2 separate regions of the Homo sapiens genome follow, and region 2 is linked to region 1. The links are contacts of gene promoters, found by promoter capture Hi-C in human tissues and cell types (Jung and others, 2019). All regions are on one chromosome and are shown on one strand. The core of a region is centred on a gene start or on the middle of the fragment in contact, and the rest is flanking DNA. Distances in the headings are between cores, read along the strand shown.

Evidence for each region. Contacts are between HindIII fragments. The study calls those that stand out against the background at their distance.
Region 2: a contact is called between a fragment that was not itself captured here and the fragment with the promoter of FSHB in region 1, in 1 of the 25 tissues and cell types used here (lymphoblastoid cells).

Annotation. Positions count from the first base shown.
Region 1 is chr11:30,229,267-30,232,492 of GRCh38, reverse strand. It overlaps FSHB (follicle stimulating hormone subunit beta), which reads right to left and starts at 1,479. Exons shown (of 3, transcript NM_001382289.1): 1 at 1,445-1,479; 2 at 432-627. The coding sequence starts at 590. All of the region lies in intron 1 of ARL14EP-DT (ARL14EP divergent transcript), which reads left to right. The HindIII fragment of the contact is 20,904 bases long and covers 1-3,226 here.
Region 2 is chr11:30,912,486-30,915,802 of GRCh38, reverse strand. DCDC1 (doublecortin domain containing 1) reads left to right here. Exons shown (of 39, transcript NM_001387274.1): 27 at 92-292. All of the region lies in intron 4 of LOC105376611 (a long non-coding RNA gene), which reads right to left. Among named protein-coding and RNA genes, the nearest start is that of LINC02859, 180 kb to the right of the region's middle. The HindIII fragment of the contact is 6,889 bases long and covers 1-3,317 here.

The DNA of each region.
Region 1 (3,226 bases), core at 230-2,729:
ATGTTTTTATGTGACTTGGAGACATATTTTGGTGTGATTTTGTGTCAAAGATGTAGTGTCAGTTAAAGAAATTGCCTTTATGAGAATATTATAGGTCCTTTATGATTAAATATATGTATGTTTCCATGTTTATCTCTCTATGTGTAAAAACGTAACATAGAAATACTTTTTCCCTGTAGATGCAAAGTTGGACTAGTACCAAATTGATCAGATTAAATCTGAGGCTTTCCTAAATTTACCCAAATCAAATCCAAGCCCAAACATCTAAGTGATATCGTGGTCATTAACCCCAATCACAACACAGACAGTCTTGGCTAAAGGACTCATGGCTGTTACTTAGAATACATAAAATATTGATAAAGTAGAAACTAATGAAACCGGCCTAATACAGACCTTCAACACCCTTGCTTCCAGCAAAACATGGTACCTACCCTGGTGTAGCAGTAGCCAGCACACCAAGTGGTGTTGATGCTTATGCAGAAACGACATTCTTCTTTCTCTATTGCAATGGTGATGTTGGTCAGCTCACAGCTATTGCAGCAGATTGCTTTCCAGCAACAGAAAAGGAAGAAAAACTGGAGTGTCTTCATCCTGGTCTGGGAAGCAAACAATGAAGCCCACTAGAAACTGAGAAACCAAAGAACGATAATCATTATGTAAGCTGACCAAACCAAAAATAATTGGTCTGCTCATCCTCCTCAATCACATTTTGCTTCAAAAGTTTTTTTTCCTTCCTTATGCCTTTTTACTTACATCTTTGTTTCTTGGAACAACATTTTTCCTTGTCCTTCTTCAATTTTTGGGTCAGGGTGGGAATATATTATAGATCAAAACTCCAATATAATGATTTAAGCAGAGGAATATTTAAAGATTAGAATCTTATTGCTGACTGTCATAAAGTAATTACTCTGATAATTGTGATCATCATATTTGTTCTTCCATTATTATTTTAAAGTCTATTTTTGTCTGAAAAGAAAAATAAAATTCTTTTCTTTTCTTGAGACAGGGTCTTGCTCTGTTGCCCAGGCTGGAGTGCAGTGGTATAATCATGAATCACTGCATCTTCAACCTTCCAGGCTCAAGCAATCCTCTGACCTTGGCCTCCCAAAGTGCTGGGATTACAAGCATGAGCCACCATTCCTGGCCAAGAAAATTCTATACTACAAAATTATGTCTTCATTTTTAGAATCTCATAAATATTTTCTTTTGCTCACATTTGTTTAAAATAAGACCATTTCAGAAGAGAGGCATATTGGTCTATAAAGTCAGTTACTTGCTAACAGTGATTACGTTATATTAACCATATTTTACAAGCCAGGTTGACAAGCATAAATTTCCTACACAACAGTAGTGAGAAGCTCTAGTTTTGTCCTCCATGTCCTGACAAATCTGTAATTTCAAAAGTAGCTGTCACCACTTGAAAACGGTAGATGCCAAGACTCACCTGTGGTCGGCTGCCTTGCCTGGCAAGAGCTGTAGACTGAATGAAATCTCAGTTCACCTTTTATACAAAATCATGTGCAACTAACACCTTGTGGATTTGTTGGGTATTAATATGACCAATGCTAGCCTGAAGCTTGCTGTAAGTGAATCAGTGTTTAGATAGACAGGGAGATCAAGCTTTACTAAAGTAGTCTAAACGCAGTAGATTAGAAAAAATAATGTTACTAGAGATGATGATTTTGTACAAATTAAATTTGATACAGTAGCACACCCACTCCTTTACCTTCTCAAATTAATTGTGACTCCAGATTTTTCTTTTGTATCTTTAAATCAGGAAATTCAGAGTCCTTTCCAAGTATTGCTTTGACTCTGTTCAGGAGATGCATTAAAAAATATGGTTAATAAATTGCTCCAAGAGCATATCAAAAGCTGTGAAGGAAGAAACAAACAAAGAGAAAACATTTCATGATCTGGCTCCTGTCTAAAGTGTGAACTGTATCTCTCTTTCCCTCCCACATTCTGGCCCCCTAATCACAAATCTTTATTTTTTGATGTTTTAGCAAGAACTTTCTACTTTACTTGTAATTCCATAAATATGTTGCTGATTCATATCTTTAGATCTTTGCATGTAATGTTCTTCCTGCCTGAAATGTCCTTGCTTCCTCCCTGCCTCCTCCAACACCACCCTGAACCCTGGCAAATTCCTCAACCTTCAACATCCAGGGGAGTTTCACCTGTCAAAGTTTAGGATGGGAGGTGAGGGAGAACCATAATCACTACCTTCTGTGTGTAACCATTTATAGGCTCTTGTTTCCTCCAATAAACTATGATCTCTTTGGAGACTAGGATTGCTTTGTTTAATAAATATTTACTAATCAAACAGTGTGACTGGAGCAAAAGGACAACAGCAGTAATATTAGAATATGATGTCAGAGAGATAACAGGAGTCAAATGTTGGAACTTGTAGACCAGTGTAAGGGCTCTGGTTTGTACTCTTTGTGTAATGGGACCCATTGAAGGATTTTAAGTAGAGGAGTGACGTGACATGATCTGATTGAGTTCTAAAAGGACTCCTCTGACTGCTGTGTTGCTAATATAGGGGAACCAAGAAACAGGAAGACCCGTTAGGATGCTATCAATAACCCAGGTGAGAAATGATGTTTGTTCAATAACCCAGGTGAGAAATGATGTTTGTTCAGACTAGTATGGTAGCTATTGGAGGTAATGAGACATGCTCTGACTCTGTATGCATTTTGAAAGTAGAACCAACAAAATTTTCTGATGGATAGATGTTGAGTGTGAGAGGAGGAAAAGGGTCAAGGATGGCTCTAAAGATTCTGGTTTGAGTAGCTGGAAGGATAAACTTGCTATCAGCTGAAAGGGGATGGCTGTAAATGTCGAAGTTTGGGAAAAGGAAATGGAGTTCAGTATGCACATGTTGAGCTTGAGTTGTTTGTACTACATCCAGGAGATAATGAAGTTTCTTTTTCCTCTTTCCAAAGGAGACTGAGGAGGGCCATTGAGGAAAGTAGGAATGGGGAGAATATGGTGTCCCAAAAGCCAAATAAAGAGAGCATCTCAGGGAGGAGCCAGTGACACCTGTGTCAGATACTGCTGACAGGTTAAGTAAGATGAGGATCAAGAACTTCACAATGCATATGCGATGTAAAGTTCGCTACTGTCCTTGGCTGTAAAAGTTACTTTGGAATGATGAAAACAAAAACCTGATTGGTATGTGTTTAAGTGATTTGGAGGAGATAAGTCATAGTGAATATAGACAATT
Region 2 (3,317 bases), core at 369-2,868, 680 kb before region 1:
ACCAACAGAACTTATAATCTCCAGCACATCAAGTGCATGATCAAGTGCATGGGACATTTTTCTGCCACTAATAGAGATTTCTTTATCTCAGCTGTTCACCAAAGCATAGTAAATTGCACAAGCATTGTCATCAGCAGTTCGAATACAGAGATGGGCAGATTATAAGCCATGCTGCTCCTCAGCTAGTCTTGGGGGTTCAAGGTCCCAATCTCCGATCAGGCATGGAGGTGGTTTTGGTGGAGAAGAAATCTGATGGTAGTCATCAGCGCTGGATACACCAGGAAGACAGCAGGTAATCCCATTATATTTGGGTTTACTATATCAAAAGGTGAATAGGATCCTAATAAGTCTAGCATGGTCCCCACAGAACAAGATGAACTATATCTGAGAATTCTGGGTCTTCTATTTAACTTAGCTGATAATTCTTTATCCTAGCCAAAGAAGAGGAAGGGAATAAAATCAAATGTAAATGCTAGGTAAGCTACATACAATTTATCCACAATCAGATTCAGAGGAGGAATGTTCCCTCTGATCTCCTGGGTATAGTTTTATCTGGCCATTGGGCTCAAGACTGAACTTGCATCAATGTCATTTTTATGAAATGAATAGATCAAATAAGAATTCTAAAACGTCCCCAATTTTCAAATTTTTTGATACTTTTCATTAACTTACTCCCCATCCTTCCCCCAACACACACCTTCCCTCTTTCCTCCACCTTCATAAAATAACCAGTTTGTGGTTTCCACTCACGCAGTATAAACTAATTCCTATCTTAGCAAATATATCAACCTAATTCAATGTCTGGTCCTGGATCCAAATTTGAACCAACTACAGTACTGTAAAAAAGTTATTTTTGAGATAATCAGGAGAAATATAAAACAGCTTGGCTATCTGATGACATTAAGGAAGTCCTATTAATTTTGTTGGGTCCAATAATGGTTCAATGGTAATGTTAAAAAAAAAGTCCTGATAAGTTGGAAACATTGTAGTATTTACAGATAAAATTAAAAGCTATCTTAGATTTGTTGTAAGACATTCTATCATAAATAAAAATTTTAAAAGTTGAGGGGAATGGATGAAATGAGAATGGCAGAATGTTGATGGCTGTTAGGTCCATGCTGGTTGATTACACATTTCTCTCTCTCTCTCTTTTTTTTTTTTTTTTTTTTTGGGTGCATATGGAACATTTCTTTAATCGAACAAAAAAGAAAACAATTCCCTGTTTTTTAGATTGGTTTGCTTCAAATTCTACCATTAGTGTGATATGGTGGGCCTCCAGGGACCTCTTTAATCTCTTGAAATAGTGTACAAAGTGTATGTTTGTGCATCGTGCAATTTATTTTTTCTGGGAAAGAGCTGAGATTTTCACTGGCTTCTCAAAAGGTCTGCGATGAAAAGGCTTATGAATCAGTACTTTGAGGGAGGTTGCACAAGCTTCAGCAGGCGGCAGCAGCGAGCCCTGCCTGGGCAGGAGAGGAGCTGGTCTTACTCTGCTCACTGAGATGAGCAAAGCCTCCGGCAAGGAGAACTCGCTGGGCTGATGTTAGAAAAGACGGGAAAACCAATTGTGTAGACAGACCTGGTGAAAGTGTTTCTTTGCCCCATTCACCTGGGCTAAGCTGCCTTTGCAATGTGTAGGTAGGACAGCAGGCTTTTGTTTCTGTGAATGGTTTGCCATATGGAACCAGAATTCATTCATTCAACTGCCAAGGGTTATTGAGGGCAGTGTTTTAGGAGCTGTTGCTTTACAAAGAACAAAACAGATAAAAAATCTTTACTCTTATGGAGCTGACATCCTAGTGTTTCCTCATTTCTACATTGTATTTAGCAATTTATATTATTGCCTCGGCTTTCTGTATTATAGTAGAGGTCCCCACTTAAACCTAAATTGCAATTTGAGCATGGCTGATAAATTTGGGTGGACATGCATGGGGAATGAGAATGTGACCCTACGGCAAGAGAAAGCCATTGCATAATGAGTTTGACCCAGGAATACTTGGTCATTGGAAGAGAATACTAGTTCTGAATCTTGCTCAGTGTCTGTCTGCCTAAAACTCTATGAGATGTTGGGTCATGTGTAGCACTGCCTTGGAAAATCTAACCATGTATAACACAGAAGAGAAGGACAGTTTCTTTCCATCTCCTCCCACTTTGCAGAACATTCTGTACTTTTGTCATCTTGGGAGCTCCTCATGTCAAGACACGGAAAAGAGAGGCAGTTAGTGGAAGGGAGATGGTGATATTGGTTGATCCGTCATTGGAAACGTCAGAGTCCAGAGAGAAGAGGTGGAGCATCAGGGGGCCCAGTGGGACAAGATTTGCTGATAAGCACAAGTCCCCCTCTAGGGACACCCAGACAGACTTGAACAAAATAGTTTTTTTTGTTTGTTTTTTTTTTGAGACAGAGTCTCTGTTGCCCAGGCTGGAGTGCAGTGGCATGATCTCGGCTCACTGCAAGCTCCGCCTCCCGGGTTCATGCCATTCTCCTGCCTCAGCCTCTCCGAGTAGCTGGGACTACAGGCACCCGCCACCACGCCCAGCTAATTTTTTGTATTTTTAGTAGAGACAGGGTTTCATCGTGGTCTGATCTCCTGACCTTGTGATCCGCCCTCCTCGGCCTCCCAAAGTGCTGGGATTACAAGCGTGAGCCACCGCGCCCGGCCAAGAGTTTTTGCAGAAGTCTTGTTGATTAGGTGTGGGCATGATTCAGAACAATATATGTCCCATGGCAGAAGTGTGTTTGTACAGCGACAGTAATTCTGAGGTTTATTGCACATCTTCCCTTGACATATTGCTTTGTTCTCTTTCATGTGGATGGGTGGCTTTTAAAACTCATTTGTTTTGATGAGCTGGTGAAACCTAGAGAACCGTGGGTTACACTATGTAGTAGAACTTAATGGAAAATTGCATTTATGTTAACCACAGTCTTTTTATCCTCCATATTTTACCCAGGCTAGTAAATTAGGGTATATATACCCATGTACATTACATATGTATATAATATATATCACCCTATGGCTGAAGGAGATTGCCCAAGAAAGGATAAACTTGCAATGGGGTCCCCTCCCCAAGGCTAGGGTTCAGGACTCATTAAAAAAGGTATGGTTCCATTCCACTGAATTGCAGAGCAGTTTTGCTGGTGTACCTGGCCAGAGCTTGTCTGTAGTGGCTGAATGTCTTAGTCTAGTTTCTGTTACTTATAACAGAATAACTGAAACAGGGCCGGGCATGGTGGCTCATGCCTGTAATCCCAGCACTTTGGGAGGCTGAGGTGGGAGGATCACCTGAGATCACCTGGCTGGACCAGCCTGGCCAAC